Regions from separate parts of the Homo sapiens genome. Here regions 2, 3, 4, 5, 6 and 7 are each linked to region 1. The links are contacts of gene promoters, found by promoter capture Hi-C in blood cells and fetal thymus (Javierre and others, 2016). All regions are on one chromosome and are shown on one strand. Each heading gives the region's core, a stretch centred on a gene start or on the middle of the fragment in contact. The rest is flanking DNA. Distances are from core to core; before and after follow the strand shown.

Region 1 (2,912 bases), core at 145-2,644:
AGAGAATGAAGCCAGAAAAGAGCCACATAAATAAAATTCCTCCTATAAATGCTATAGGAATCCAGAGAAAAAGTTCCCGTGGTTTGGAAAATGTCAATAAAACTTTCCTGGTGGAAATGAGGTCGGCTATGAGGTATTAAGTTCAAAAGGAACTGGATATTTGGTGTCTCTAGTAAGACAGAGCTGCTTCAGAGTCTCCCCAGGGAAAGACGGTGCTTTGGGCAGGTAGTTAGTGTGGGTGAAGGTGATGACTGAAGAATCCTAAGGGCCCAGGCTTGTGGGAAGCCTCTCTCTTTCCGCACTTCACCAATTATCTCATTTTCATAAGGTCTGCGCTTTCCTTAATTGCTTCACTTCCATCAACAGGAACAGGGGAAAGATAAATACATTTCACCTTTTAATGAAGAGAATTTCAGGTAGTCTGTGGGAGATGTTTATAAAAAAAAAAAAAAAAGCTGGTAGGGGGCAGTGTCTCACGCCTGTAATCCCAGCACTTTGGGAGGCCGAGGCAGGTGGATCACTTGAGGTCAGGAGTTTGAGACCAGCCTGGGCAACAAGGCGAAACTCCGTCTATACCAAAAATACAAAAAAAATTACCTTGGCTGATGGTGCGCGCCTGTAATCCCAGCTACCTGGGAGGCTGACGTGGGAGGATAGCTTGGACCCAGAGGCGGAGGCGCAATGAGCTGAGATTGCCTCACTACACTCCAGCCTGGGTGACAAAGTGAGACCCTGTCTAAAAAAAAAAAAAAAAAGTAGTTGGTCTGTGAACTCACTTGCAAATAACTGGATTTTACGGACGCTTAGATATTTGGAGGTCCACAAGGGTTCTTTGGGATCCCCTATTTTCCTTCGCTGCCTCCTTTGTCAGAGTCCAACTCAAAGGGGAAATGCCCCTCTGGGATCTAACCGCCACAGGTGCAAGAAGGAGCAAATTTACATAGAAGCAGCCTGGGGAAAATAGTGCCCTAGATGAGTCTTCAGTTTGGGAAACGCTGAGCTAACACTTTAAGTACTTGGAAGAGTAATACTAATAATCAGTCGTGGCGAGGTTCCGCCCATTTGACATTCAACCCCCCATGAGTGCGCACAGACAAACCCACTGGCCAGGAGGAGCCAACACAAGGTCCTGGGCATCTCCGTCCCGGGAAGGTGGGTAATGCCCCTGTCGCTCTGGGCTCCAGGGCGCGCCCCCGCAGCTTCCCCAGCGGGGTCTGACGCCTCCGGGCCGAGGTGCGCCAGGTGGCGAGGGTGCCAGGCGCGGCCAAGTCGCGGCGGTCTGAGTCAGTCACCCAACTATGCTGCGGAACCAGGGAGGCCGGCTGGGCCGCCCCCGCCGTTGAGCTCCGGCTTCCCCCGCGCGGGGCGCCTGCTCCCCGCCCCCGCGGGCGGAGAGGAAGCGGCGGCCGAGGCGAGGCGCGGGAGCACCTGAGCAAGGCGCGGGCGCCGGGCTCGGCGTTTCCGGAGCTGAGCGCGGGTCCGCGGCCCGCGCTCCCCGCCTCCAGGTGCGGCGGCCGCGACACGCCGGCCCCACTAACAGCGCCGCCCGCGCGGCCGCCGCCAGGCAGCAGAGGCGACTGCGGACAGCCGGCGGGGACCGGGAAAGAGGAGGCCTGGCGCCTCCGGCAGAGGGGCGAGGACCGAGCGCCCAAGGCTGGGAGAGACGCCGGCGCTGAGCTTCCCAGCGCCGCCTCACCTCGCTTTTCGAACTCCGCGACCCGAGCGCAAGGCGAGTACCCGGGGCCTCGGGAAGGCTGGGCCGGGATGGCCCACGCGGGGGTGGGAGGACCCTGTCTGGAGGGGCTGGGGCTTTTCGACACTTCACCGGGTAAATTTCCTCAGCGCAAAGTGCTCGGCTCTGGTGTCCGCCCCTTGGATTTCGCTCCCGCGTGTGGGCGTCTGAAAGGAAACCAGAAGCCGGTAAGTGATCCAAGAACTCCACTTCTGGGATTTGACCCGGGAGGGTGAGGATCCGGATAGACAGCTGGACACTCCCTCCATTCCTCTCCCCTACCTTTAAATAAGAAGAAGCTGTAGTGAGTTTCAGGCACCAAGTTATTTACTCGGTAGAGATCATGAATTTGCCCGGGTGTCTGTGCTGCCCCGCACCCTGCTTGTTAACCACGTTAAGACGACTGGCCTGTTAATTAACTTTAATTACGATCATTTGGCTTCCACCTGCCTGAACCCGATACCTTACACGGGAACCTGTATGATGTGAGTTTACCAGATTGATCTTTCTTGTTTACTTTTGGAGACAGTTCTCTTGGGAGAAGTGGTGTCCATCCTATTTAATAAAGTAAGTTTTACTTTATCTAATTCTGGCTTGTTTTCTTAAACACCTCCTACCTTGAGGTGATCTGGAGTTATTTTGATTTGGGGAAAGGGTTCGTGGATTATATAGCCTTTGATAATTAGAGGAAAACACAAGAAAATAAGCTAATTTGTGTGGAATAATGACATCTTAGGGTGTTGTAAGTAGGTATCCTGATAGCAAATTCTTTTTTTTTTTTTTTTTTTTTTTGCAAGCTTGTCCTTGAAGTAGGCTGTTCAGTAGAATACAGCCTTCGGTTTAAAAAAAATCAAGAAGTGTATTGAAAATAAGCTATTTTTAAAAGTACATTTAATAGGATGTCATTGTTATTACTCATAATAGTATTGTACTTACAAGCTCAGTATTGATTTATCTGCACTTAAGCACTCTACACCCCCACAGGCCCATGGAACTTTGCCCGTAAGTAATTGGAAGATAAAAAGCAAGCTAACTTTTTTTAAGGAAAAAAAGAGAAATACCTTTAAACTCTTTTTTTTTTAACTCTTATTTATGACTTCCATACACTTACAGGAGAAATATTGAGAGAAAATACTCATGACATTTTTTGTCCAACAACGTTTAAAGAAGAAAAAAAAGT
Region 2 (2,912 bases), core at 275-2,774, 1.9 Mb before region 1:
GCTGAATGCTTATTGTTCCTTTTCTCACTAGGTCAGTGCACTGGTAAGGAGATGATGTTAATGAGATGCAGGTTATGGGTATGACCCCTGCAAGGGCTAGTTAGTGTCAGAGAAAGGCCACCTTTGGAGACTACGCTGATTGATTCCTGCCAGAGACTCCCAAATGCCTGCTGCCAGAGATGCTCCACTCACCACCACTCCTCCCATTCAAAGCGTCCAACCCTCCAAGGCCGGAGAAAGTTCAGCCCCAGAAGCTTCTGTGAGACACAGGGGGTCTTAAATCGGGAGATCATTTGGGTGCACAATGCAGGAATGTGCTTGAATTCAGAGTTGAAGGAAGGACTGCAGGAAGCTTTGCTTGGGAGGAAGGGCCTCCTAAATTTGTCTGATGACACTTGGGGACAACATCTTCATCCTTTAAAGCATTTGTACCGTTTTTTGGCTTTGGAAATTTTTTTAAATCACATCTAATTTTAAAACAATAGTAAAGAAAAATGTTACCTATAAACCCACTGCCCCAAACCAATTATTTTTATTTTGCCTGTCTTCCGGTATCTTATACATTTACATTCTGGAATTTTTTAAAACAAAACAAAACAAAACAAAACAAAAAAACAATAACTCTCCTTGGAAAAGTGAGCAAATGTCCTGCATTTGAAAACCTCCCTAGGAGACAGTGAACTGTTGGAGCCGCCCAGCGCAGTGAGGCAGTAGCCTAGCTCACTACACTGTAGCCCACGTCCTTTCAGTGGGACTTTTCTCCTGCCTCTTCCTTCTCTCCTCTCCTTTTTCAAGCCACCTAGAAACAGGCAAGACGTTTTATCCGGCAGGAAATAGGAATCTTAAATTCAGCTGACTCTATTACTTTGCACTGTATTCGCTGGGAACAACACAAAGGAACTGCTTTTCTTTGAGGACATTTCAGCAACCCTCTTATTGCGTTACTGTGTATTGGAACTCTATTTGAAACTAAACTTCATGATCTCAAAGTGCAATCTTCCTATGTGAGCTTGCACTGCATCTCTTTTTCCAGCCACCTTTGTCTTTGTCAAGGCTGAGCCTTCTCAACTTTCTTCTGGAAGGCTGCGGTCCTCCAGTCGTGGCTCCGCTACATTCTATGAGTAACGGGTAAAGGGGACGCTGAAGGCTGATGACAGTGCTGTGCAGAACAACAGCACAGACAGACTGGACACACTCATCATCACGCGGCATCATGTCACCTGAATAGCTGGAGATTTTCCTGGCCACAGAAACAATCTTGTTTTCAGTCTATTTTCATCCTAAAGTCTCTCTGAAGCCTTCACTATATTGCAGGTGGCTTCTGTGTTTTTTGCCAAACCCTTAGTTTTTATACTCCTCCTCCTCCCTCATCTATTTGGCAGCATGTCCTATAGAAAAACATCAGAGGCTGAACACTGCAGCCTCCTCCTCCATCAGGAGCAAGCCAGGTCCTGTTTTTTAGATTTTTCTTCCCCCAAAGGTAGATGTGATGAGAAAGTGAACAGAGCAAGCGTCTCTCCCAGGGCCCTGCTGTACTCAAGCTAGAAAAATACAGGAAGGGGCTATTGACATTATGTGACACCAGGTAGAAGAACTGCCATTCAGCAAGGTGTGAGTATCATGTGAAGGTTAAGGCGCACACATCACTGGCAGCCGCCCCTCCAAGGAGCAGATACATACTTAATGCCAGGTAACCTATTAACTAATATATGAGCTAAGGTGGTGCAAACTGAAATATTTTACTTAGTCAACAAAGTTCTACATGTTTTTAGAGTTTATCCAGACTTAAAGGCTTATAATGAAATGGGCCCTAGGCCAAAAAAGACTATAGTGACTGAATGGCAGGCTTTGAAATATAAAACTAAGCTATCTCCATCACCATTCTCTAAGTCATCAGTGCTAAAAATAGAAATGGTTTGTAAAAACCTATCTTTTCTGTTTTTAAGTACTGAAAGATGGGATGGACTGTGGAAAAAAAAGCAGTTCTTGCAAAGTGACATCACAAGCCAGTGCGGCCTTGAGATCCCACTTCCCGCCTCTAATCCCAGGAGCCCTTGGCCAGCTGGACAACGACCCACTTAGCACAGCAGGAGTCTGTGGGATCCAGGAATGATGTAGACACTGGCATCTCTATGCATAATGTTTATGAAACTCCGAGTCTCACCACTGCCTACAAAGTCTACAGAAAAATATCTTACCTTTACAAGCTGCAGCTTTGATTTATGAAGTCATTAGAGTGAGCTTCAGAGAGCTTCAAATTACTCTGCAATAGAAGGGCTATCATTTCCAAAGTGGAGTCTGCTTGTTTGTTAACGTCTTTTTACCCATTTATGAGCCGAAGGAAAAATTTCTCTTCCAGAGCCCCAGAACTTTCTGCAAGCAGCAGCTCCAGTGCCTGGGGCCCCAGGGCAGAGATGACTCAGTGATGACCCCTCAGCCCTCCAGTCTGTGGTCAGCCTGGTTGCCTTGGTAGAATTTTCTTCACTAACCAAGTAATTTAATGCCTGAGCTGTTTACAAACCATTAACAAACAGCGCTCCCTCCTCCCCATTTCCATCCTCACTCCTCTTCATGACCCTGTATGAAAATCATAGCTAAAATGTGGAGAAAATGTAAGGAAGGTAGATTAATAATTTTCTTTTAATTTCCAGTGTTAGAGAAGTCAAAAACATAGAAGTTATTGGCAAGAAAGCTTAAAGCCTAGAGCTTGAGATTTTAGTTTCTGTAACTCTTTTGTTAATAAACTAAGCACACAATTTTGAGGCTTTTAGTTAATCTTTTTTTTTTTTTAACCATGGTATAAACCTTCATGAACTCTCACTAAAGATATGCTCAACCAGGAGATAGCTTTTTGTATCTATTTTAATTTAGTGATTTTATTTTTTCAGGGACAGAAAAGAAGGAATATGAAT
Region 3 (2,912 bases), core at 261-2,760, 1.8 Mb before region 1:
ATGGAGGACTTCAGTCATTTACTTCATTTTATTTCTATACATTTTTCTAGGCATCTCTAGATGCCAGAGCCAGGGATTCAGAAATATAAGATGAATGTAAATGAGTCCCTGCCCGGAGGAGGAGGTTTAATTAGGATCCTTTACGGTAATTGAGATGGGGCATGTTGAGAGCCTGAACTGAGAAAGAACTAAGCACTGAAGGCTGAGAGGAAGGCTGAGAGAAAGGCTGAATGAAAGATTCTGGAAGACAGGACTAACAGGATTTGGTGGTGACCTGGATAGGGGGCTGAGGATATTGAAGATGGGGCGTGGTACCCAGGGCTCTGGCTTAGGCTTCTGTGTGGATGACTGTGCCATTAGTTCACAGAGGGAGTGCAGAGTGGAGAAGGTTTGGGGAGACAGTGCAATGAGTTCTGCTTTTGTCTATGTTAAGACCAGGAGGACTTGAAAGTAAAGGCATCTAGCTGGGTAAGTGGGCCTAGAGTCCAAGACAGGGAGTCTAAGCTGGACATGAGCAGCTCACATCCGGGAGGGAAAGTAAAGGAAGGGAGTGCCAAGACAGGCTCCTGGGATACCCCAACATTTCAGGTGTAGAGAAACTAAGGAATCGCAGGCAGAGAAGATGGGGACCTGGGGGGAGGCAAGGATGAGGTTAGAGACGCCCAGAAAGGGGACACTCCATCTTCAAGAAAAGGAGTCAGCAACTTACAACAGGATAAGGGCTGAGAGAGCTGGCTGGAGCTTTGGCTCATACAGATAAGTAAAAATAAATAAGGCGGAAGACAATACTAAACCCCCAAAATAAACATGCCTAACTGAAAAATGTCCTCAAGTAAAACTTTATTTAGTCTAAAAGAACATATACTTCCAATTACAATATTTACTGCAAAACACAGATCCTTTTTGGGCAAATACACTGAGGCCAGTGGATTTATTCCCACTGATATGATCTGGGTACTTTTAGTGAAAATCTTTTTTTAGTTTTGTTGGAGCAATAGTATCTACGTCATTTCTGTTTGCAGACGAAGTAAATCAAAACCAACTATAGCACAAACAAGAACCCAAAAAGCATCTTATTGGGACAGATTCAATAAGGGTGTGGGGCTTAGTTTTAATTTTCTTTTAATGAAGAAACAGGCCTTATTTAGATACATAAAAATTAAACTCCTCTTCTGCCAACCTATTTGAGTTTATACTAAAACTCAATTTTGAAAGTAAGTCTGCATTTTGCTCACAACCAAAACAAGTTTCTTTGTTCACATACTAACAAATGCACAGTAATGTATGAAGTTTCTGAAGCATGCATAAGTGAATACTGTTTCATATGTAGCCAGATAATGACATCCCAAGAGAATTAGAAATATTCAGTTCTGTAAATAAAGTCCTTATTTAAACATTTGGGTCAACTTGCTTTTTAAGGATTTAGGGATTATAAAGGATTATAAATACACTGCAAGTGTAATTTTATTCACAAGGATTTAGGAAAGAGCTCCTGAAACAATATTTAGAATAAAAAGTCATTTTACTTTACATTTGCTGCTTTGTTTTTCTGTCAACAAGTAAGAAACAAATATTAAATAAGTCTGAAGCACTGTGTATTTAAAATTCTAGCATTTTTCCCGTTATATGATGGTAACACATTCTAAGACTTCAAAAATATGGCCGGACACATTGTGTTTTTTCCCTTAGATGAAATGCTTTCTCATTGTAAGGAGTTCAAATGAGCACTTCACACAAAAAAAATGCTACGTAATCATTGTCCAGAAGGAACAGATTTGTGGCTTGTTTTTATTGACAAGCAGTTATTTGTATTTGTTGGTCGTAAGGTATAAAGGAAGGGGGTAAAAACTAAATTAAACCAAGTATTTCCTCACTCTATCTTACATGCCTTAAATTTCATGCAAAACACTTGAGAAAATATGAGTGCCTATTACTTAAATCATTTAAACAGAAAATACCATCAGTTGCTATCTAGATAGGACACAGGTAAACATTCATATTATGCAGCAGCTCAGCCTGACAGGACTAGATTCAATCATGAAGATTTGAATATGCCTCCTACAATGAGTAAGACATGATTCCCTCTGACTTTAGGAGGCTCACGCATATGTGATTTCCAATATAAGGTGACAGGTGCCAGAACACAAACATGGGCGAAGGCACAGAAGGCCGCTCCTGTGCAGTGGTCTGTCTTGGCTCTTTTGCTTCATGCTGTGGTGATCTAATGCCTCAATGCCTGCTTCATGCTTACAATTAGACAACAGGTCAGATTAATGTGTTACATCTTGCCAAGGAGTGATCAGGTGTCCCTGTTAGCTGGCTGAGGAGGCATCTGGGCATAGGTGAAGTGCTAATGACTGTTAGCCCCTGACACAGGGGCCCCTTTTTCATCCCCTCTGCCTTATCTTTCTGTCCTTTGGGTCTTGATCTTTCATCCCATGTAAAAAAGAAGTAGCATTATTCAGCTTCCCTGGTTGTGAAATGGCAAATTGGATAAGCTGTTAGTAGCTTTTAAACCCCACAGAGATGGTCTATGCAAACACAAAACATAGTTTGTACTCCAAAATAATTGTTTAAAAGATTCACTACAACCTTCTGACTGACCAACACCTTTCTACAAACATTTAAAACTATGAAACCACAAAAGAAGTAATCGAATGGCTGTAGGAGCTAAAAGAGGGTGGGAGGAGGTGAGAAAGAAAAAGGAAGATTGCACTGTAAGGATACGAAATTATTTCGTAGGTTTTCTAAAATAGTTTTTAAAACTTAAAATGTTGGGTGGCCAGCATAAATATAGATAGACTTCATGGAATCACTGAATATTCAATCTGGATGAGAATATAAGTCCTCAAAGTCCAGCCCCTTCACTGAAAGCACTGATTCTCAACTCAAATGTGCCTGCACATGGGAAT
Region 4 (2,912 bases), core at 158-2,657, 1.7 Mb before region 1:
GATGGGACCTTTGAATCACTCACTCACCTTATTCACTTTCGGGATGAAATGCAGCCACAGGAGGCTGGAATGGCTGGCATCTGGTCACAGAGCCAGGCTAGACACAACTAGACCTCCCCAGTAAGGACTGGTTTTTTAGGCAACACTGGGTCCCTATGATTTGCTTTTATTTGGGATAAAATCGTCCAGTGTAAAATTTCCTTATTAGGCTAAAACCTCTAAGCCCACTAAATTTAAAAAAAAAAAAGAGAGAGAAGAGCTGCCAGTGCCCACATTTCCAGGGACTTGCAGGAATTCTCTGAAACTCACAAGCCTTACCAGGTCTGCATGCTCGTGTTCAGCAGCAGGTGCTAAGTGACTGTAAAGGGCTGTGGTGCCCACCCTGGGGTCTTCATGCAGGGCTTGAGGGTAGAGTCACCCTCTGCCCCATAGTGACAGGCCAGCTGGGCTCCACTGCCTCCATCTACTCAGTCAGGATTAGCACAAAAACTTGTTAGAGAGGTTTAAAGAGCCCCCAGATCAGCGGAGAGGTACTCCAGGACACTGTGGACTGTTCTTAACACCCACACCCAAGCCAAATCTCTGGCACCCAGAATAAAAATGATGTTTTTGAGAAGGACAATATCTAAGTTAACAGTGTATAGTCAGTTCTACTTATCCCTGATCAAAATTAACCGTGAGGTTGTAAAGTGGGATTTACTACATTTGGGAAATTATTACCTCTGTATACCAAGGGGCTACTCAGAGGTTTACAGTTCCCCACCTGCTTTCTGGCAGGCTGACTCTGTGACTGCCTTCACCACCTTCCCCCCACCCACCCCCGCCCCAGGTCAGCAGCTGGGTCTCTCTCATCTTGGCAGTTGTGTCTCAAGTGCCTGCCACAGAGTAGAGGCAAAAGAAATAGATTGTGATCAACACTGAGCTTGAAGCGGCCAGATTTCTTGACCAAGAACGTCTGGAAACACCACACTACTCCCCCAAATAGTGTAGTTATTGCAAAACAAATACAGAGTTGTGTGGTCTGGTGGTCTAGTACATCCAGCTCTTTCCTTGGGGAAAAATATCCAGAGACCACATTCTCAGCTGATTAACACACTAGAGAATTGACAAAAATCAAACTTTGGTACGATGTTCTTTCAGTTACACCAAAACTGGATGGCACAGACTTGAAGGGCTGCTTTTACTGAAACACTAGTGTGATAAAAATCCCTATGTATTATATTCACATATTTCTGGAAATGGAAGGAGAATCCCTTCCCTTCACCTGGAAATTCAGGAATACAGCTTTTTCTGGAACCGTAAGAAGGCTTTGGCCTTAGATGTACTAGCAATATTTCATGCTTATTATACAATTAATTGATTAATAATCAGTACACAAGGGGCCACAAACTCCTTACTCATAAGCGGGCTTTTGGTTGTGTTTCTGAAGTCAAATTTTACAAGTTCTAATACAGGGGTATCCAATCTTTTGGCTTCCCTGGGCCACACTGGAAGAATTGTCTTGGCCCACACATAAAATACATTAACACTAATGATAGTTGATTAGCTTAAAAAAAAAAAACTCAATGTTTTAAGAAAGTTGATGAATCTTTTTTGGGCCACATTCAAAACCATCCTGGCCTGTATGTAGCCCACAGGCCGTGGACTGGACACTTGCTCTAACATTTTAAACTTGGAAACTTACATATTTCTTTTAAAAGCCTAACACAATAGAGACTGTCACAATAGACCAGTGTAAATGTCCCTAAGCAAATAACGTCTCAAAAATCTGACAGTTTATTTCCACCTAATGACTGGTTTCCTTTGGGCCCACCCTTTAAAAAGAACTTCCGCAAAATACCACTTGGCTAATTCTCTGCCTTGGGCAGTCCTACAATTATAAATTCTGCTAAACAAATAAACTTCCTTCCTATTTTTAAAGTATTCCAAAATTGGAAACTCTGTGTCTTTGGTTGGCAAACTATTTTCTGGAGTCTAACAGCCTTAGCCATGAAGAAATTCTTCATTGCACTCTGAGAGACGAAAAAAACCAGAAACTGTCAAGGAGTCCCTCCCTACACCTATTTCAGGGAAGGGGAACTAACCCCACAGAGTTGTGACCTTGGGCAAGGTCACACAGGCTGCTGGTGGCAGAAGCCAATGTCCTCCTCTCTCCCCCATTTTCCCCTTAACTGATCTAAGTTACTTGTGGCCTAAAGAAAGCAGTTTGCTCTTGTTCTGTACTAGGGAACAGGGTTTATGTTTAATTCATGCAGAATGTGCTAGAACAACAGAAAGAATCTAAATATTAGTGTCAGCAAAAAGAATCAATCTCCGTAAAACATTTAAAGAGATTTATTCTGAGCCAGATGTGAGGACCACGACCCATGACACAACCCCAGGAGGTCCTGAGAACACGTGCTCAAGGTGGTCGGGGCTATAGCTTGCTTTATACATTTTAGGGAGACATAAGACATCAATCAATATATGTAAGGTGTACATTGGTTTGGTCTGGAAAGGTGGGACAACTTGAAGGTGGAGGGGAGGTTGCAAGTCATAGGTGGATTCAAATATTTTCTGAGTGGCAATTAGTTGAAAGCGTTATTATCTAAAGATCTGGAATCAATAGAAATAAGTGTGTAGGTTAAGACAAGGTCATAACCTGGGTGAAGACCAAGGTTTTTATCATGCAGATGAGGCCTCCAGGTAGCAGGCTTCAGAGATCTTATCAGACCTAACAAAAAATGTGCCAGACTCTTAGTTAATTCTCTCCTGGTTCAAGGAAAAGATCTGGAAAGTGAAGAGGATTCTTTAGAGAAAGTAGATTTTCCCCATAAGAGACAGCTTTCCAGGGCCATTTCAAAATATGCCAAAGAAATATATTTTGTGGTAAAATACTTCAATTTCTTTCAGGGCCTGCTATGTCAAGTGAT
Region 5 (2,912 bases), core at 193-2,692, 1.7 Mb before region 1:
ATTCAAATACACTATTTTCTGTAAAATACTACTCTCCCACCCATCTGAAAAATATATCCTTCCCACAAGGAACTGCATATGCTACCCTGAAAGGATTGTACGTATACTGGGCATCAGTAATCTTTTTTTTTTTTTTTTTTTGAAACGGCGTTTCCCTTTTGTTGCCCAGGCTGGAGTGCAATGGCACGATCTCAGCTAACCACAACCTCCGCCTCCTGGGTTCAAGTGATTCTCATGCCTCAGCCTCCTGAGTAGTTGAGATTATAGGCATGCACTGTCACACCTGGCTAATTTTGTATTTTTAGTAGAGACAGGGCTTCTCCATGTTGGTCAGGCTACTCTCAAACTCCCTACCTCAGGTGATCCACCCGCCTCAGCCTCCCAAAGTGCGAGATGACAGGCATGAACCACCGCACCCAGCCAGGCATCAGTAATTTTTAACATCTCCAAGGTGTTTCTCTCATGCAGTCAGAATTGAGAACCTCTGCAGACAGAATAGTCATTGCTCAAAGACACTGATAGTTTCCAGCCCTGATTGTCTATCAGAGTCACCTGTAATGGGAAGGTGGCCAAGTGAGAGAGAGAGTAGAGGGTCTCAGATGATTGGGCTGTTTTGGAGCAAAGGTCAAATTCTCAGAGACCTCAAAGAGCAAGCAGGTCATATAAATGTGTGAAGAGGGCAAGGTGTGAGAGGATAAAGAATGAAGTAACTACAGCATCTTAGAGAATGCATTCTCAATTATTAAAACACTCCACCTAGCCAAGTCAAATGTGTCAGCCCACTGAATTCAGCCACAGAGGTCATTATTGGTGTTGACCCATAATGTTGACTCTGGGTTTACTTAAAGCTTAGAAATATATTCTAGCAAGTGATTCTGATTATCAGCCAGGATCAAGAACCACTCTTACAGTTTTAGATCCTTTACTTTAAAATATATATATATAGTTGCTCTGTGGAAAGCAATAGGCTATCCAAATAGGACTGCAGAGATCTAAACACGATAGTATCTGATATGGTTTGGCTGTGTCCCCACCCAAATCTCATCTTGAATTGTAGCTCCCATAATTCCCATGAGTTGTGGGAGGGACACAGTGGGAGATAACTGAATCATGGGGGTGATTTCCCTCATCCTGTTCTCATGGTAGTGAATGAGTCTCATGAGATCTGATGGTTTTATAAGGCAAAACCCTTTTTGTTCGGCTCTCAATTCTTCTCCTGTCTGTTGCCGTGTAAGATGTGACTTGCTCCTTCTTGCCTTCTACCATGATTTTGAGGCCTCCCCAGCCACGTGGAATTGTGAGTCAATAAACCGCTTTCCTTTATAATTACCCAGTCTTAGGTATGTCTTTATTAACAGCATAAGAATAGACTAATACAGTATCCCTACAGAAATCTCAAATTGTTGTCTAAGTAACTTTAAAAGGATGCTTTAATGTCTCACCATCTCAGCACTCCTGAGACATTAACGGAGGACTTGAAAGGCAGGGGGGCCGGTCTGGGAACTGGAAGAGTTGCTTCCCTACTAAGCCTGACCATATCCCCACCAAAACAAACCCTGACACTCCTGCCCCAGCTCTTCTGCCAATTTCTTCTTTTGAGGAGGAACAAGAAGCAAGGGCGGCAAAACCTCCTGTAAGTTTAGGAGGTGATGCCAGGCAGGCTGCCCTCTAGTGGGGGGGGCCAGTGAGGCAGGGACACATGCAAAAGAATGACCTCACTCTGCCAGCTTGCTCCTCCCCACCCTAAGACCTGGTTAAAAATAGAGCCATTGTAATACAAACTCTACAAGGAAGTTCAACTGGGTTTCAAGTGAATCAGAACCACTTGGCAATGGATCAGGAATTCAGTTCACAAATATGAATATTCATTAGCACCTATTTTGGAAAGCCACAGAAGTCCTTGCAGGAAATAGCAAAATGGAGTCAGACCAGAATCCTGCCCTCAAGGGGCATAGAGGGTAGCAGGGAAGCTCAGGCAGGGAAAAGAGTGACAAAAGCCTGAAGTTATTTTCCCTCAAAGTCCAGGTGAAGCTTCGATGAGTTCCCAGAGGAAGGAAAATAACTTCAGGCTGCAAAGGAAAACCCAGCTTCCTGGCTGGTTTCAGGCCATTTACAGAAGGTGGAGAGGGAATGGGCTTTCCAGGAAGAAGGATCCGCATGGAGAAAGGCTTAGAAGATTAACGTTCTCTGGAAATCAGGCCTTGCATAGGAGGAGATAGGACAGAAATCAGAGCTTCATAGTGGAGAGGGAATGTTAGTGTAAGTTTGATGATATGCAATCATCTCTTACAAACAGAAAAATTTGTTTCCAAAGAAACCCATATTTGCCAAGGATAATACCAAATCCTGAAAATCTAATACTAAAAATCCCTCTGCATAAATTGAAAACATATATGCCCATGTAAAAATGTGTCCATGAATGTGCACAGCAGCACAACTCCCAAGAGTGGAAACAACCCAGCTGCCCTTCAACTGATGAATGGATCAACAAGATATGGTATATCCACACAATGGAATATTATTTGGCTATAAAAAGTAATGAAGTACTGATACATGCCACAGCACTGATGGACCTTGAAAGCACTATGCCAATTGAAATAAGCCAGTTACAAAAGACTGCATACTGTATGATTCTATTTATATGAAATATCCAGAACAGGCAAATCCATAGAGACAGAAAATAGACTAGTAGTTACCGGGGGCTGGAGAGAGGAGAAAATAGGGAGAGACTGCTAATGGGTGCAGGGTTTCTTTTTGCAGTGATGACAATGTTTTGGAATTAGATGGTGATGATGGTTACATTAATATACTAAATACCAAAATTTGTGGATTTACTAAATACCAAAATGTTACAGAATGTAAATTACATCTTAATTTTGGTAAATCCCGCTGTGTGATGATGATTGAATGAC
Region 6 (2,912 bases), core at 283-2,782, 1.7 Mb before region 1:
TCAGATCAGCTGCAGACAAGAGCAGAGTTTCTAATGGAAATTTTAAACGGGTGGGATCAAGATCCTGAAGCATTTCTTCAAAGAATTGTAACAGGTGATGAAACATAGTTTTACCAGCGCAATCCTAAAGATCAAGACAAATTTAAGCAATGGCTACTGAGAGCAGAAGTGGTCCAGTCAAAGCGAAAGTGGACTGGTCAAGGGCAAATGGTTGCAATAGTTTTTTGGGATGCCCAAGGCATTTTGTTTGTTGACTTTCTGGAGGGCCAAAGAATGATAACATCTGTTTATCATGAGAGTGTTTTGAGAAAGTTAGCCAAAGCTTTAGCAGAAAATCGCCTGGGAAAGCTTCACCAGAGTCCTTGTCCACCATGACAATGTTCCTGCTCATTCCTCTCATCAAACAGGAGCAATTTTGCAAGAGTTTCCATGGGAAATCATTAGGCATCCACCTTACAGGCCTAATTTGGCTCCTTCTGACGTCCTTTTGCTTCTCAATTTTAAAAAATCTTTAAAGAGCGCCAATTTTTCTCCAGTTAATAATGTATAAAAGACTGTATAAACATGGTTAAATTCCCAGGACCCTCAGTTCTTTAGAGACCGACTCAATGGCTGTTAACATTGCTTACAAAAGTGTCTTGAACTTGATAAAGTTTATCTTGAGAAATAAAGCTTATGTATATATGTGTTTTTTACTTTTTAATTCAATTTTTCCACAAAATGTTTTGAAGTTTCCTCATATTCTATGGAACATACAATAGAAAACAATCTCATGGCATGCTTATAAAATTGTTCCTTTACATGCCTCTTCTCCCAAGACATTACTCAGTGAATTAATTAGATGCTGGTCAAAGGGTTTCCTCGCAAACTGTAGTTTTGTGTTTATGATGCTGGCAGTAAATGCATATGTCTTCTCTGGCAAATGCAGTTAGTGCTGACCTCATCTGTTTAGAAGAGGCCTTAACCTGGAGAATTATTTCACCCAGCAAATGTTATAAGTAGTCAAGAGAATGCTCCTACAGCAGATAATCCTTCGCTATGAGATACAGTGACATTGGTGTCCCAAGAACAGAAAATCTATCACGCTGTTAGCATCATGGCCAGTGTGATTTACTGTTCTGTTTCCAACAACAAAATCACTGATTGAGGTATATACCTATACTACAAATTATTCTTTTATTAAATGAGCAGAGTAATGACAATTTGTGTTTGCAAAAATGGTATGCAAGCCAAAAATCACTTAAGAACTAATTCATATTTCAACCATGGGTTTTTAGCATATAGAGTAAGTCCAATTCTCTACTTGGGGAAAGACTGGAAGTCCCAATTACAGAATTTGGTTATAAATCTCTTTCTCTTGTCAGGCATCCGAATGACTGGCCAGAAGCCTATTCTCAGATGGCCGTAAAAGATTTTGGGAAAGAGTCAAATGTGTAAAATGCTGAACAACGATTCCACGCACAAACTCTCCCCAAGGAAATTCAGTCCAAATACTATATAGAGCTGGACTGAGGTACAGGCTGTTCAGTCCTCTCATTTTCATTCTGGAATTTGTCCAAATAATAGGAGCCATTAAGTTATACGTGTAGTTTTTAAAATGTTCCTCAAATATGACCAGAATCTCATCTTTGAAAGCTGAAGGCACTCATCTAGGTATCATGTTTCTTTTTACCTAAGACGTGAAATGAAATTAGCATATAATCTGCCTCTAGTAAAATTTTCTTGAATGAAAATGTTTTTATGGCTATAAATGCTTACTAAGTTTCAGGTCGAGTGCTACCTCATTTAGTCTTTCCAGCAACTCTATTGGATAAATACTGTAATTATCCCCATTTAACAGATAAGAAAACAGACTCAATTGCCTGAGGCCACCCAGTTTATGGGTGCAGAAGTAGGATTAGAGTACAGGAAGTTAGTCCCTCTGAATCTCCAAGCCTGATGCTGCCGTGCCCACTTGAGATGTGTGGACAATAACATGAAATGATTTATAATATGAGAGTTTGATTCTGTGAGTGAAATGGTGGTTTTGAGCTCCATATTAGCCTTTATTTCACAAAGCCTTCTCTACCCTTTGGGTGTGTGTTAGGCTCCCTTCTCAGTCCTTCCATTATGTCCTATACATAGATCACCTGGTCCTATTCCCCACTGATGCTCCTGCCTTCCTACAAGCCTCTGCTAATATCATCTCCAACAGTACCTGCAACAGCAATTCTGAATGACTAGAAGAACCAACAAATGAACAAGCAAAAGGGCATCTACTTGATACCAAGAATATTAATTTCTAAATAAGGTCCTTACACCCTAGAGAGTACATAAAATAACCTAATGGAGTGCAGAGAGAAAACTTTAGCATTTCTATCCAGATTTTAACCTTGAAAATATGAGAAGCTTTCAAGGCTTCACTGACAGTTAACAGGTGGATTGACACTCGCATCCTCGCCCTGTACATGTGGCAGACAGCTTGAATCACATGTGACTTGGCTTGCTTGGCACCCAAAACAACGGCAAGACTCCACAGTCCATGGGGTTAGCTGTGGAGCCCTGAGCCCAACTGAGAAAGTTGCTATTTGCATTATATTTTCAATTTTATCTAAGCTAATCCTCATAAAATGGGCAAGCATCTTCAAATGAGTCCTGCCCAGAGCTACAACGAATGCTAATAACAAAGCAAGCACAAATGAACGAGGAAAGAGCAGAACTTTTACCATGTCTCACATTTTTTTTCAGCCATATCATGTGATAATAACAAGCTAATCAGATCTGACCTGAGGTTTGCGAAAGAAAAAAACACAAAGAACCCCTGATCGCATCAAAACTTAGATGCATATCCAGCGTTCTTATCAATGACCTTTGCCTAAGTGAACATTATGCCTTGGGAAACTGGCCAGTAGCATTTTTACACAGTTTACGAA
Region 7 (2,912 bases), core at 162-2,661, 1.6 Mb before region 1:
GTAGAATTTACCAAGATTTCCAAAGTGGCAGGTAGTTACCGCAAAGGGGTTAGTAGTCTTTCAACCAGTAGAGATGCATAGATGAGCTATTCTTTCCATGGCTCTGAACTAGGCACTGAAGTGATGCAAAGAAATATGAGACAGCTTCCTTGTCTTCAGCATCCTTACTCTCTTCTAATTCAGGGTTGACAAACTACTAAAAGCCCATTTAGTAAATATTTTAGGCATTGCAGGACATTCCATCTCTGTCCCACCTTTCAAATCTGTAGCAGTGGCCGGGAACAGTGGCTCACACCTGTAATCCCAGCACTTTGGGAGGCCACGGTGGGCGGATCACGAGGTCAGGAGTTTGAGACCAGCCTGGCCAATATGGCGAAACCCCGTGTCTACTAAAAATACAAAAATTAGCCGGGCATGGTGGCGCATGCCTGTAGTCCCAGCTACTCAAGAGGCTGAGGCAGAAGAATTGCTTGAATCCGGGAGGCAGAGGTTGCAGTGAGCCGAGATTGCGCCACTGCACTCCAGCCTGGGCGACAGGGTGAGACTCCGTCTCAAGAAAAAAAAAAAAAAAAAAAGTCTGTTGCAGTGCAAAAGCAGCCACAAACGCTATGCAGACAAATGAGTATGGCTGTGTTCTAGTGAGTATGGACGCTGAAATTTGGATTTCATGCATTTTCACATTGTCACGAAATATTCTTTAAAAAAATTTTTCCAACCATTTAAAAATGTAAAATCCATTCTTAGCTCATGGGTCATACAAAAACAAGTAGCCGGATTTGGCGAGCAGGACATAATTTGCTAACCCTGCTCTAGGGCAAAGGTTTTTAACTATTTTTATAGTATAGATCCCTTTGCCTGTGTAATGAAGCCTATGGAACCTTCCTCAGAATAATATTTGTAAATGCCTAAAATAAAATAAATAAAATACATTAATAATGAAGTTCATATGTTATGATATCATGCTTTTAAAAATATATGTTGATATCTGTATTTCCATGTAATTGGCTACAAATTATATGGAAGGCTGGGTACAGACATTCAGCCTTCTTCTCATTCTTTTGTTGCTAAATATAAAATGTAGGATGACATTCTCCTTTAAGAGAAGTTCTCCTTTAAGTAACCAATTATATAGCCAATTATATAAAATTCTCCTTTAAGTAACCAATTATATGGAAATACAGACATCAACATATACTTTTAAAAGCATAATATTGTAATATATGGACATCATTATTAATGTATTAAATAACAAGATTTGCCCACAGGTATAATAACTACCATGATTTTGAGAGTGATAAAAATATATGATATTCTGAGATACTTGTTACAACTGAAATGTGACATGAAAATCAATGATTTCTATTGATGACAATGTCATGGGGAGTGATAATACTATTATGGTTTGTCACCTAAATTTTTAAAGGCAGAGAAATGTAAATTGTGATTAGAACTGCTAGAAGTAACTTAAAAAATGTATTTTTATTTTCCACCCAAGTTCACTGACCCCTTGGAGTGTATGCACAGAACCATCAGAGAACCTTTGATCTTAGGTTAAGCACCCATGAGAAATCAGTGACAAGACTCCATAAATCTGTGCATAATCCCTCCTTAATGTTCTGGAATCACAAGAGGCTAAAGCCTCTTTAAATTTGAACATTTCTTGAAAGGAAGAACTCATACCTGTCTCACTGACCAGCATCGGATGGTCTCAGACCACTTCCTGGCTATGTGAACTTGAACAAGTTATTTTCACTGAACTCTGGTGTGTCTATGTGTCTGTGTCCCCCCGCTTTTTTTTTTTTTTTTTTGAGACGGAGTCTGGCTCTGTCGCCCAGGCTGGAGTGCAGTGGCGTGACCTCGGCTCACTGCAAGCTCCGCCTCCCGGGTTCACACCATTCTCCTGCCTCAGCCTCCAGAGTAGCTGGGACCACAGGCGCCCGCCACCACGCCCGGCTAATTTTTTGTATTTTTAGTAGAGATGGGCTTTCACCGTATTAGCCAGGGTGGTCTGGATCTCCTGACCTTGTGATCCGCCCGCCTCGGCCTCCCAAAGTGCTGGGATGAGGCGTGAGTCACCGCGCCCGGCCTATGTGTCCCCTCTTTAAGATGACGGGAATAAAAATAATAGTACTTATCTTATGTTGTTGATAGGGTTAATGAGTTAGTAAATGTAAAACACTTGGAACAGAACCTGGCATGCAGTATAGCACATCATGCTCATTGTCATTATTCAGTGATGTAATTCTCTCTTGTTCTTCCTTCTCTGGATGCTATCAGCTCTTTCATGTAGCCTTCTCTTCTCTTCCTCTTTCTGTAGTGGGGAACAGGAAGCTAACCCAAGAGGATGTTTTCTTTCAGGTAAAAATTCAAATAACTTCAATCTTGGCTGGGCGCGGTGGCTCACGCCTATAATCCCAGCACTTTGGGAGGCCGAGAAGGGTGGATCACCTGAGGTCAGGAGTTCCAGACCAGTCTGACCAACATGGTGAAACCCTGTCTGTACTAAAAATACAAAAATTAGCTGGGTGTGGTGGTGCATGCCTGTAATCCCAGCTACTCAGGAGGTTGAGGCAGGAGAATTGCTTGAACCTGGGCGGCGGAGGTTGCAGTGAGCCAAGATCGAGCATTGCCAAGATCGAGCATTGCACTCCAGCCTGGGCAACAAGAGCAAAACTCCATCTCACAACAAAACAAAACACCCTTCAATCTTTGGAAAATTAAGACTTCAGGAATTCAGCGGTTGTGCTGCTGCAGAAACACTACAATGATTGCTTTAAGGAAAAGTTTGGAACATTCTTCCTCCTTTAAATGGTCAACATTTTGCCAGGGAGGGCAGGGAAAGCTTATCCAAACTGAGTAACATTTTTAAAGTTAAAATTTAACAATGTAAGAAGTCTTTCAAACCCTGTTTC

Evidence for each region. Contacts are between HindIII fragments. The CHiCAGO score rates a contact against its expected background, and 5 or more counts as called.
Region 2: a contact is called between a fragment that was not itself captured here and the fragment with the promoter of ARAP2 in region 1, in 1 of 17 cell types (M2 macrophages). The highest score is 5.9, in M2 macrophages.
Region 3: a contact is called between a fragment that was not itself captured here and the fragment with the promoter of ARAP2 in region 1, in 1 of 17 cell types (M0 macrophages). The highest score is 6.6, in M0 macrophages.
Region 4: a contact is called between a fragment that was not itself captured here and the fragment with the promoter of ARAP2 in region 1, in 1 of 17 cell types (M2 macrophages). The highest score is 6.3, in M2 macrophages.
Region 5: a contact is called between a fragment that was not itself captured here and the fragment with the promoter of ARAP2 in region 1, in 2 of 17 cell types (M0 macrophages and M2 macrophages). The highest score is 8.1, in M0 macrophages.
Region 6: a fragment that was not itself captured here is called in contact with the fragment with the promoter of ARAP2 in region 1 in 1 of 17 cell types (M0 macrophages); the score reaches 7.9 in M0 macrophages.
Region 7: a fragment that was not itself captured here is called in contact with the fragment with the promoter of ARAP2 in region 1 in 1 of 17 cell types (M2 macrophages); the score reaches 6.0 in M2 macrophages.

What each region holds. Positions count from the first base shown.
Region 1 is chr4:36,242,996-36,245,907 of GRCh38, reverse strand. It overlaps ARAP2 (ArfGAP with RhoGAP domain, ankyrin repeat and PH domain 2), which reads left to right and starts at 1,394. Exons shown (of 33, transcript NM_015230.4): 1 at 1,394-1,729. It overlaps LOC439933 (a long non-coding RNA gene), which reads right to left and starts at 1,792. Exons shown (of 5, transcript NR_122079.1): 1 at 1,697-1,792; 2 at 598-736. RefSeq lists a silencer at 1,019-1,598. The HindIII fragment of the contact is 5,605 bases long and covers 1-2,531 here.
Region 2 is chr4:38,119,395-38,122,306 of GRCh38, reverse strand. The region is part of intron 19 of TBC1D1 (TBC1 domain family member 1); the gene reads right to left. Among named protein-coding and RNA genes, the nearest start is that of PTTG2, 160 kb to the right of the region's middle. The HindIII fragment of the contact is 2,340 bases long and covers 355-2,694 here.
Region 3 is chr4:38,008,057-38,010,968 of GRCh38, reverse strand. All of the region lies in intron 2 of TBC1D1 (TBC1 domain family member 1), which reads right to left. Among named protein-coding and RNA genes, the nearest start is that of PTTG2, 49 kb to the right of the region's middle. The HindIII fragment of the contact is 5,234 bases long and covers 1-2,912 here.
Region 4 is chr4:37,988,969-37,991,880 of GRCh38, reverse strand. The region is part of intron 2 of TBC1D1 (TBC1 domain family member 1); the gene reads right to left. Among named protein-coding and RNA genes, the nearest start is that of PTTG2, 30 kb to the right of the region's middle. The HindIII fragment of the contact is 6,203 bases long and covers 1-2,912 here.
Region 5 is chr4:37,969,711-37,972,622 of GRCh38, reverse strand. All of the region lies in intron 2 of TBC1D1 (TBC1 domain family member 1), which reads right to left. Among named protein-coding and RNA genes, the nearest start is that of PTTG2, 11 kb to the right of the region's middle. The HindIII fragment of the contact is 1,183 bases long and covers 851-2,033 here.
Region 6 is chr4:37,903,022-37,905,933 of GRCh38, reverse strand. The region is part of intron 2 of TBC1D1 (TBC1 domain family member 1); the gene reads right to left. Among named protein-coding and RNA genes, the nearest start is that of TBC1D1, 13 kb to the right of the region's middle. The HindIII fragment of the contact is 1,716 bases long and covers 675-2,390 here.
Region 7 is chr4:37,878,925-37,881,836 of GRCh38, reverse strand. No RefSeq gene overlaps it. Among named protein-coding and RNA genes, the nearest start is that of TBC1D1, 11 kb to the left of the region's middle. RefSeq lists an enhancer at 49-549. The HindIII fragment of the contact is 2,866 bases long and covers 1-2,844 here.